Regions from separate parts of the Homo sapiens genome. Here all the other regions are linked to region 1. Evidence: promoter capture Hi-C in 16 types of primary human blood cells and fetal thymus (Javierre and others, 2016). All regions are on one chromosome and are shown on one strand. The core of a region is centred on a gene start or on the middle of the fragment in contact, and the rest is flanking DNA. Distances in the headings are between cores, read along the strand shown.

Region 1 (3,802 bases), core at 519-3,018:
GAGATTCCTGGGATTTTCTAGGAAACACATTGCTCTCATTTGCAAACAGTTTTACTTCTTTCTTCCCTTTATTTTATTTTTATTCTTTTTCGAAAAGAAGTCTCGCTCTGTCACCCAGGCTGGAGTGCAATGGGGCGATCTCAAATCACTGCAACCTGTGCCTCCTGGGTTCAAGCGATTCTCCTGCCTCAACTCCTGAGTAGCTGGGATTACAGGCGCCCGCCACCATGCCCCGCTAATTTTTGTATTTTTAGTAGAGACGGGGTTTCACCATGTTAGTCAGGCTGGCCTCAAACTCCTGACCTCAAGTGATCTGCCTACCTCGGCCTCCCAAAGTGCTAGGATTACAGGGGTGAGCCACCACACCCAGCCTTCCTTTCCTTTTTTTTTTATTTTTTTGAGACAGAGTCTCACTCTGTCGTCCAGGCTGGAGTGCAACGGGCGATCTCTGCTCACGATTTTTAAAAATTATTTCCACTAAGGAAACTGAGGCATGGATAGGTTACGTTGTCCAAGTTCACACAGCTAATAAAATGGGAGGATTCAGGAATTTGGGGGTTGTATTTCAGTAGGTGCAAGGAATTTCAAAAGGTAATGTCATCAGTTAAGGCAGGAACCGGCCACACTTCTTTAGTGATTCTTCAGTTACTTTAGGCCATCTGGATGTATACGTGCAGGTCACAGGGGATATAATGGCTTAGCTTGGGCTCAGAGGCCTGACACTTGGTAAATAGACACACACACAGACACACAGACACACAGACACACACACACACACACACACACGCTCCGGTAAAATTCACACAAGTGAGGCCGGGTGCGGTGGCTCACGCCTGTAATCCCAGCACTTTGGGAAGCCAAGGCGGGTGGATCACTTGAGGCCAGGAGTTCGGGACCAGCCTGGCAAACGTGGTGAAACCGTCTCTACTAAAAATAACAAAAATTAGCCGGGCGTGGTGGTGCATGACTGTAGTTCCAGCTACTCGGGAGGCTGAGGCAGGAGAATCTCTTGAATCAGGGAGGCGGAGGTTGCAGTGAGCCGAGATCACAACACTGCACTCCAGACTGTAAAAAAAAAAAAAAATAAGAAATGAAAAAGGAAAAAAAAATCACTCAAGTGGGACGGTCTTCTCACTGTTGGAAGACCTGTTGGACTCGCTAGTAAACGGGAAACAGGGCGAAATAGGCGTTTCTTCCCCAGAAGCTCTTAAGAATGAATGAATGTTTGGCCCAGCGCTGTGGCTCAGGCTTGTAATCACAGAACTTTGGAAGGCAGAGGTGGGAAGATTGCTTGAGCTCACGAAATTGCAGTGAGCTATGTTCACGTCACTGCCCTCCAGCCTAGGAGACAGACTGAGACCGCATCTCTAAAAAGAAAAGAATGAGTGGCGGGAAGATCCCGCTCCCTGCCTGCGTATTGAGAAACTGCCTTACAAAAGGCCAGGCAGGGCAGAGCCACGCCAAGTTCAGGTGCGTTCCCTGTGTCCCCACTAAATGCACTCGCAGGGTGCGCATCGCCAGGGCGCAAGGCGTCTGGGCGTCTCTCTATGAAGAGGCGCCCGCAGCTAGCGAGGCGGGTGCACTTTCCTCGGGAGCGGAAACTACAGCGCCGCCTGGAAAGCGTGCCGGGGCTCGCGGGTCCTGGATCCCCAGTGCCAGGGCCAGGCGTTCTGGCCCCCGAGTGGCGCGCGCTCCCAAGGGGCGGGGCGGGGCGGGGGCGTGACGGGCGGTGGCCGGGGGCGTCCGCTCCTCCCCCTCGCGGTCGGTAGAGCTGGCTGCGCCGAGCCCCCTGCGCGCTGCACATGGGGCGCCTGACGGAAGCGGCGGCAGCGGGCAGCGGCTCTCGGGCTGCAGGCTGGGCAGGGTCCCCTCCCACGCTCCTGCCGCTGTCTCCCACGTCCCCCAGGTGCGCGGCCACCATGGCGTCCAGCGACGAGGACGGCACCAACGGCGGCGCCTCGGAGGCCGGCGAGGACCGGGAGGCTCCCGGCGAGCGGAGGCGCCTGGGGGTCTTGGCCACCGCCTGGCTCACCTTCTACGACATCGCCATGACCGCGGGGTACGCGCGCCGCGGGGCACCCTCGGGCCCTCCCCGCGCCGCGGTCCGCGGAGGTTCCGGGTTCAGGGGGCGCGGGCCGGGGTGTAAGGGGCGCGGGGGGTGCGGGCAGCGGCCGTGGGGGAAGGGAGCTGTCGCCGCGGCCACCGCCGGGGTTGAATGGAGCGGGCGGGGGGGCCGGGCCCTGCGCGCCTGGCATTGCCTAATACGGTGCACGGCGGGGCGCTGGCCGGAGGTTAAGTATAGAACCGGGCAGGAATGCGGTGCCGGCCCGCGGGGGAGGTGGCTGCTGCCCCGGCGCCGCTGCCTTCGCTGCTGTTGAAGGAGCGCCCAGCCCTGGCCACTCGATGGTCTCGGGAGCGCAGAGCTTCATGCTGCGATCGCTGGGCAGAGTTTTCGCCCCTGTTAATTTCACCGCGACTTTTTTTTTTTTTTTTTTTTAAAGCACAGCACGTCCTAGAGCTTGTCACTTGGGACGATTTTGAAATAACCACCCCACTTATCCCAGCGTGGAGCTCCTGCCCAGCATCTTTATGGCCTCAGGCTCCGTGGCTGATAAGCTGGACCTTGATTTTTGGCTTTGAGTATGACTTTGCAAGTTAAGGTTACACAATGACTGTCGCTCTTCGCAGAGCTCTCAAAGTGACTTTTGTGTCAACTGCTTCTCAAAACCTGTTGGGAAAATGCTTTTCCATTTCTCAATTGCACTGCCTTTTAAAAAAGTTATTTTCCCATTATCACTCGAAGTATTAACTTATGTAAACGCGAGGAAAAGTTTACTATTTTCTTTTTTTCTTTTTATTATTTATTTATTTATTTTGAGACGGAGTCTCGCTCGGTCTTGGCTGGAGTGCAGTGGCGGGATCTCGGCTCACTACAAGCTCCGCCTCCCGGGTTCATGCCTTTCTTCTGCCTCAGCCTCCCGAGTAGCTGGGACTACAGGCGCCCGCCACCACGCCTGGCTAATTTTTTTGTATTTTTAGTAGAGACGGGGTTTCACCATGTTAGCCAGGATGGTCTCCATCTCCTGACCTCATGATCCGCCCGCCTCGGCCTCCCAAAGTGCTGGGATTACAAGCGTGAGCCATCCCGCCCTGACAGTATTTTATTTTATTTTTTAGACGGAGACTCATTCTGTCGCCCAGGCTGGAGTGCATTGGCGCGATCTCCGCTCACTGCCAACCTCAGCCTCCGGAGTTCAAGCGATTCTCCTGCCTCGGCCTCCGGAGTAGCTGGGACTACAAGCGTGGGCCACCACGCCCCATTAATTTTTGTATTTTTGGTAGAGACAGGGTATCACCATGTTGGCCAGGGTGGTCTCGAACTCCTGACCTCAAATGATTCCCCCACTTCGGCCTCCCAATGTGCTGGGATTACAGGTGTGAGCCATCGCACCGGGCCTAATATTTTATTTTAATTTTTTAAAAATAGAGATGGCCTCTCACTGTGTTGGCTAGGCTGGTCTCAAACTCCCGGCCTCAAGCAATCCTCCCACCTCAACCTCCAAAAGTGCTGGGATTACCACTTCCGGCTTAATATTTTAAACTTTCTCCAGGGTTTATAGAAAAATGTGATTGACAAAAATTTAATAAATCTTTACCTATGGTGATTGAGTTTCTATTATGTGCTTAGCATATGATATTGAATGCCAAATACAGTTCATACAAATGTTATTTACTGAGGACTTACTATGCAGGGGACTGTGTTGGTTATTTTAGGTGTATTTTTAGTCCTTTAAAGTCCTGT
Region 2 (3,767 bases), core at 894-3,393, 470 kb before region 1:
TCCCAATATCACTGTCCCCCTCACAATTTCTTCCAACAAGACATAAGTAGGCCCTGGCAAAGCATGACTTTTTGTAACCAAATAATCCCATTTTTCTAAGAGATAGTTTATATTTTTTCTCTCTCTTCCTTTCTTTTTCCTCGTTTATCCCAGTGCCTACTTAGCTCTTTGGAAAGGCAGTTATAGCCTTTTACCTCCCCTTCACCAGATACTCCCTTCAGGGTGAGTTTATCTAACCACGTGCTTGGAAGTCCCAAAGTGGAACTCTCACCCACCAGGAGGTTGCCCCAAGAAACAACAGTCCAGGCCGGGCGCGGTGGCTCATGCCTGTAATACCAGCACTTAGGGAGGCCGAGGCGGGTGGATCACCTGAGGTAAAGAGTTCGAGACCAAACTGGCCAACATGGTGAAACCCCATCTCTACTAAAAAGACAAAAATTAGCTAGGCATGGTGGCGCATGCGTGTAATCCCAGCTACTCGGGAGGCTGAGGCAGGAGAATTGCTTGAACCCAGGAGATGGAGGTGGCAGTGAGCCAAAATCACGCCATTGCACTCCAGCCTGGGTGACAGAGCAAGACTGTCTCAAAAAAACAAAAAAACAAAAAAAAAAACCAGTCCATCTACAACCCAAAGTATACCCACTACAAGACTCTCCCACCTGGAGAGTTTTCAGCCACGTTTACAACCTAGTCCTGCCCAGGAAGGCACCAAAAGTCACCCGCTTGACCACCTGGCAGATAGGGCCTGACGCCGATATGTGGACTCTCCACCTGCTTGATTCCGCCTCTGTATGCCATTAATGCCAGGCTTTCCCCGTTAAAGGCACCCACTTTCTGCTCCAAAAGTGAAGCAGGACCTTTCAGGCAGGAAGCCTGTGCTGCTTCTCCTAAGCTAACTACGGAATAAAAAGTCACTTTCTTTATACCAGACCTTGCTCTTGCTAATTGGAGTTTGTAAGCAGCGAGCAACTGAACTTGTGTTTCGGTTAATTTTAAGGTCCACATCCTTCATGCAAGTATAGACCTCAGATCTTAAACATATAGAACCCCAGGAGTGACCAGTTCACTGAGCATGGATGACGATGGACCCAAGCCAGTCACAATATGGTAAACAACGAATGATATCTGAGATACACAGGCCTGAACTTGCTTGTCAGGTCCATCTATTAGCAGATGGGACATCCAGGCAGGTTGTGGCCACTGCCAGATGGGGGCCCATGCCAGGCTGCCTGGGCTAAGGTCTGCTTAGAGGAGCCCAAGTAGTTGATGTTGCCAGTTTTAACAAGCATGGAAAAAAAAAAAAAGCAAATAAGAATATAAGTCTCAAACCTGTGCAGGCTCAGAATACTAGTCAGTGCAAGCTTATTTTTCAGGAGTTCTGGGGGAATCTTTAGCTAAGGTCTCAAAACTAAAAAATATGTTGAACTAACCCCAAACATGCATTCCCATGTATATTTGCCCAAGAAAGTCCATGAAATGAAACTCAGCTTTTCTGACTTGTCCCTATTTAGGAGCTTTCAATATTTTCCCAATAGTCCGTAGATATCATGTGACCACACTCAATCTATTCCATTTCCCATTTCTTGTCAGGCCTCAATGAACTGTGACTCAAATTATATTGTGTACCTCATTCTCTGTCTCTTCCAAACTCACAACCAATTCTCCCAACCCAACTGCTCACTGGGTTACTAGACAGTTTCTCCATTAGTGATCTATCTGAACTTTCCAAATATGTAGCCGTTCCAATACTGTTTTAAAATACCATAAGGATTTTTTTCTCTTATAGTCCCTAAAAGATTATACTAAAAAGTATTCTTTCATGTATTCATTCTTTTTTATTATTATTATACTTTAAGTTCTAGGGTACATGTGCACAACGTGCAGGTTTGTTACATATGTATACATGTGCCATGTTGGTGTGCTGCACCCATTAACTCATCATTTACATTAGGTATATCTTCTAATGCTATCCCTCCCCCGCTCCCCACCACACAACAGGCCCCAGTGTGTGATGTTCCCCTTCCTGTGTCCATGTGTTCTCATTGTTCAATTCCCACCTATGAGTGAGAACATGCGGTGTTTGGTTTTTTGTCCTTGCCATAGTTTGCTGAGAATGATGGTTTCCAGCTTCATCTATGTCCTTACAAAGGACATGAACTCATCCTTTTTTATGACTGCATAGTATTCCATGGTGTATATGTGCCACATTTTCTTAATCCAGTCTATCATTGTTGGACATTTGGGTTGGTTCCAAGTCTTTGCTATTGTGAATAGTGCTGCAATATCCAGAATCTACAAAGAACTCAAACAAATTTACAAGAAAAAAAACCTCATCACAAAGTGGGCAAAGGATATGAACAGACACTTCTCAAAAGAAGACATTTATGCAGCCAAAAGACACATGAAAAAATGCTCATCATCACTGGCCATCAGAGAAATGCAAATCAAAACCACAAGGAGATACCATCTCACACCAGTTAGAATGGAGATTATTAAAAAGTCAGGAAACAATAGGTGCTGGAGAGGATGTGGAGAAATAGAAACACTTTTACACTGTTGGTGGGACTGTAAACTAGTTCAACCATTGTGGAAGTCAGTGTGGCGATTCCTCAGGGATCTAGAACTAGAAATACCATTTGACCCAGCCATCCCATTACTGGTTATATACCCAAAGGATTATAAGTCATGCTGCTATAAAGACACATGCACACATATGTTTGTTGCGGCACTATTCACAACGTATTCATTCTTTCAATAGACAGTGAACACTTACAACTTGCCTGGCACTGTGCTAGGCTCTGGGAAAGTAATCCACTGAGAAAATGATCCTTGTGTTCAAAAATGAATACAATTACTATGTTCCTGAGGGAAACATAGTAACTCCCCCAGGAGCTTACACAATACCAATTAAAGGACAAAGCTTCCAGTTGTCGTATTATATTCCTTCACCCTCATTAATACACAAAGAATCACTTGAATTCTCTCCCATATTATTCTACTGTTGCTCATAAACTTTAAAAACCAAATGCTGAGTGATAGATTATTATTGTATTTTGTCTATATTTAAAGAAAGGAGGCAAAGTCAGGGGAATCTCTGGAGATATCAAGTTCACTTTGGATGAAGAAATTTTACTTTGCCGTCACACAACTTGATTCATTTCAAAACCAGTAATCCAGTCTGAAATTCTGCAAATGCACCAAGTCAGAATCCTATCATTTGGGGTAACTTTCATGCTGGGAGTTTATATAAACTGCTCTTTCTACATAAAATCTTCATTCTAACTACTATGTAATTTCTAAAGCTATTATATTTTTTTAAGCCCACCCAAAATACAGCCTGAGGAAAGCTGATGACTAAAGGAAACAGACATGGACAATAGGTACAGGGAGACCAGCACATTCTGGAATATTTCGAGATCAGGCCACTGAGTAAAGCGGCCCAAGTCTTTTCTAAAATGAGGATGGCCTTTTATCTGCTGGTACTCAGAATCCGTTCCAAAAGGGAGCTTTGAACTCTTGCACTGGGCACAATTCCCAGGAGTCCCACATTTCTTCCTCTGGCCAAGGACCAACAAGCAACAGATTGAAGAAGAGGCTGGGCTTTGTTTGTTTGAAGCATTCCATGTTTTCTGGCTCTAGGTTTTGGGGCTGTCCGCCATGTCATGAGTTATCTTTTCAACCAACCCAAGAGCTTTCTTCCGAAAACAGTTTCAGCCCAGAGTTATGAACCATAGTTCAGGTTCCAATTCTGCCACTTCACCTTCCTT
Region 3 (3,684 bases), core at 268-2,767, 510 kb before region 1:
AGAAAAGTTAATAAAATTGAAATTTCTAAGTCTCCCCACAATAGTTGAGTTATAGAATATTCCAGATAGGCCAGAAAAAAGCATTTGGCTGTTATATAGAACTCTGGCTCACTGAATACAGCTTTCAGTATATCATTCTTAGAACTATCACAGATTTAAAGTGGACAATTAGTAAAGTAGGTAATTTTTCAGAAAATAATTTGGGGAAAATAGAAAGTTGAAATGATTAAGCTGTCTTGACCAATTTTTGCAAGTGCTAATCTGGAGACTAATTTGGCCTAATTTTCTTCTCAGTCCTCACCCTTACCAGCTGAGACCACATGGGTAAGGCTTTCAGCATCCTAGCTCTACAGTAAGGGGTCTGGCCCAGGTGACATAAAACCTATTCTAGATGCCAGGACAAAATTTGTACTAAGCATGTGGCCTTTGTTTATGTGGCCTATGTTTATAATTTAACACAAAAAAATTATTTGTGATGACTTAACAAAAGTAAAAATAGTTAAGTTAAAATTACCAATCCGACTTTAGTGGGTAACTCTGGCTATATATTTTACCTGTTACATCTTCTTTAAAGTATATCAGAATTAAAGCATGAAATGTTGAAAATAAAAAGCCATTGTCAGAAAACTCTATCAGTCAGAGTTCTCAGGGGATGTAATACTTTTATTTATTGAATTCAGAGGAAAACTGAGGAGACATTGAAAAATCTTTCAAAATAGTTAAGTATTTTCTGACTTTGAAGTCCCAGGAAGTATCATCACTATGAACAATGATTATGGTAAAACTAGCCAGGCTGTAGGTGATTTTATGTACTGTTATTGTAAACAGATGTACTGAATTGATTCTCCCACCTCCCCTGTTTTCTGCCTTTTTCTAAGCATGTGGAAAAATGTTTCCAGTTAGATGAGGGTTTTAGGCATTGAAAGTTTAAAAGTGACATGTCTAAATCACAAAACACAATAGGCAGTTTCCCATGGTAATCTAGATAGTGTTTTTAAGATGACAGCTTGCCGCTGTGGCTCATTAGATTTAAACACAAATGGCCTTTGCCGCTTAACCTTAATGTCCTTCACTGTCAAATGAGGAAATTAGAGTAAATTTTTATTACTTTTCAAGGTTCCTGTCAGCTCTGAAATCCTATGTTTTTAAGAAGAATAGTTAAAAGCCAACGAACCACTCTTTCCGTTACCATTTGTTTGGAGATGCCTTCTTCAAAGGAAATAGTTTCTGAAAATAGATTCCCAGATCATTCAATATTTTTAGATCGTATTCCAAAGAAAGTATCAGAGAGAATCTAAAACCTGTATTATCATGTTCAATAATAACGTGTGCTGATGTATTTGGGAATATAGAAGAATATTTCCTTGAGCCTAATCTCTTACTACAGAATATAAGGAGTAAAGACATCACACATTTAGAAGTATTTTATGTTCTTCTTATAAGCCATCCAGATGCCAGGATTACTAGCTCTCTGAATTGCATACTTAAGGAAAATGTCTCAATCATACTTGAAGGCACCATAAAATGTCTTTAATTAGAGTGCTAATAATGGTATTTTCTGCTGATATAGTACATTAAATCCAAGTGGCCCAAAGGACTCTACAAATTAATGTAGCCTAATAATATTCAGCAACTAGATTTCACACTGCACATGAAGGACTTTGGGAGGAGTGATATACTGTTGTCACTGAAGCCATAGAAATAAAACAGACACAAAATGCCAGATGGCAATAGTAATATAGAAAATGCTTTTCTTTTGTCCTGAAAAATCCCAAAGGGTTTGGTAAATGTAAGTGAATATGGTAAACACAGCCCGCCTCTAGACTAGAACACAGAAGTGTGCCTTTGATCACACATGTTAGCATTACAGAACAGTTTGAGCAAGGGTTATGTTTACTTGAAACTGCAGCGAAGGATTCCTCAATGATAGAGATAAAGATCATGTTGGAATACTGATAATGCAGGACAGATGAGCCCCAAAATCGAGGCATAGCCCAAGAGGATTCTTGGCTTTGCCCAGGAGAGAATTCAAGGATGAGCCGGTGGTGTTAGACAGCAGCCTTTTATCGAACAGTACCATTCCTTATGGAGCAGGGCTAACTCAAAGGTAGTGCACCCAGTATGGGCTGTTGGCAACTGTATTTATAACCACTTATATTCCCTTTCAATTACATGCAAATTAAGGAGTGGGTTAATGCAAATGGAGGGGTGGGTTATTTAGCACTTTCTAGAAAAGGGGTGATCCCTTCTGGGTTATTGCTATGGAAAGGGTGGTAACTTCCAGGTTGTTGCCATGACATTTGTGAACTGTCATGGCACTGGCGGGAGTGTTCTAGGCTAATAAGCATTGAGGGTAGCTAGGGATCACTTTCCTTGCCATCTGCTGGTTCCTGCTGGTTTCTAGTGGCTTCTTCACTTCATCTGGTAGGGACCGGGAAATACGCCCTGCCAGTCTCCTGCCTCACTAAGAAATCATAGTTGACAAAAACAAGTACACAAATTAAACACGAAACAGCAGAAACATATTTCAATGAAATGTATGCACAATTTGAATGTTTTACATGTACTAAGTGCTCACTATGTACCAGGCACTGTGCAACTGCTTTGCAGATTATTTAATTTAATCCTTACAATACGTCTGTGAGGTGAGCCACATTATTATCCCCACTGTACAGATGCTCAGCAAGATAAGAAATCTTGCCCAAGGCTAAACAGATGATTGGCCACAAATATTGATAAGAAATGTATATATGTGTGTTTATATATCTATGTATGTATATGTATTGACTGGAGTGTAATCGTTTCTGCTATTGATATTAGAGATCTGTCTTGAAGTAATTTAATTTAAAAATGGATAAAGAAACAGGAATTCAAAATGGCAGCATTTTGTCATCATCTAGCATTGTAGTTGAATTTTAACCTATGAACCAAAAGAATGTTTTGAAAGAGAAGAAGGAAGGAAAGAAGAAAGGAGGTAGGGAGGGAGAGAGGAAGGAAGGGAGGGAGGGAAAGAAAGGAGAGAGAGCAAGAGGGTAGGAGATGAAGGACAGGGAACAGTCTGCTGAAACCTTGTTGAATCAAGGCAGTTATTTAATTAACGTCATAAGCCTGCTTTAAACAGGCCAGGTAGTCCAAGCCCTCACATATGAATAAAACCACAGTGTTCAAAGTGGCTCAATGCTTCAGGGCACTGGCTATGGCCTAGGTTTGGATACCCACAAATAGCACCCCACTCCATGTGGCTTTGCAGGAATGCCCCTCTGAAGATAGATCAGGCTTCTTACCTGTAAATTAGGAAAAATAATCTCTTCTTCTTGAAGTTGTGGGGATTAAGTGTATTAATAAACAAGGAGTTTAACAAATGGTAACCGGACTTAGATAATCATCATTCTTTTTCTTTGCTTTCCTACTGGAAGGGAGAAGAAATGATATTCTCTAAGGTTTGGTTGATTTCACTTATATGTGGGAGCAGTAACGAGACCAGAGTAGTAGAGGGGAAAGAACTTCACAGTTGAAAAGCTCATGGTAACAGTTCTGCCATCATTATTTCCTTCAATGTCTGATCTGAAAAACTGGCTGGGAGCTGTGACTCCTTCAAATGTGGGATGTTTATACAGTGGCCCTGGGGCCTATTTGCCTAGGATGTGCAGGATAAAGATACTGCCTCCTTGGCACCCAGCGATG

Evidence for each region. The method cuts DNA at HindIII sites, captures the fragments that hold promoters and counts their contacts. A CHiCAGO score of 5 or more calls a contact.
Region 2: a contact is called between a fragment that was not itself captured here and the fragment with the promoter of HACD1 in region 1, in 2 of 17 cell types (naive B cells and fetal thymus). The highest score is 7.7, in naive B cells.
Region 3: a contact is called between a fragment that was not itself captured here and the fragment with the promoter of HACD1 in region 1, in 1 of 17 cell types (M2 macrophages). The highest score is 6.4, in M2 macrophages.

The regions. Positions count from the first base shown.
Region 1 is chr10:17,615,340-17,619,141 of GRCh38, reverse strand. HACD1 (3-hydroxyacyl-CoA dehydratase 1) reads left to right here and starts at 1,768. Exons shown (of 7, transcript NM_014241.4): 1 at 1,768-2,059. The coding sequence starts at 1,803. RefSeq lists a silencer at 1,568-2,227. The HindIII fragment of the contact is 16,531 bases long and covers 1-3,802 here.
Region 2 is chr10:18,087,390-18,091,156 of GRCh38, reverse strand. No RefSeq gene overlaps it. Among named protein-coding and RNA genes, the nearest start is that of CACNB2, 51 kb to the left of the region's middle. The HindIII fragment of the contact is 1,559 bases long and covers 1,364-2,922 here.
Region 3 is chr10:18,121,944-18,125,627 of GRCh38, reverse strand. No RefSeq gene overlaps it. Among named protein-coding and RNA genes, the nearest start is that of CACNB2, 17 kb to the left of the region's middle. The HindIII fragment of the contact is 4,393 bases long and covers 1-3,684 here.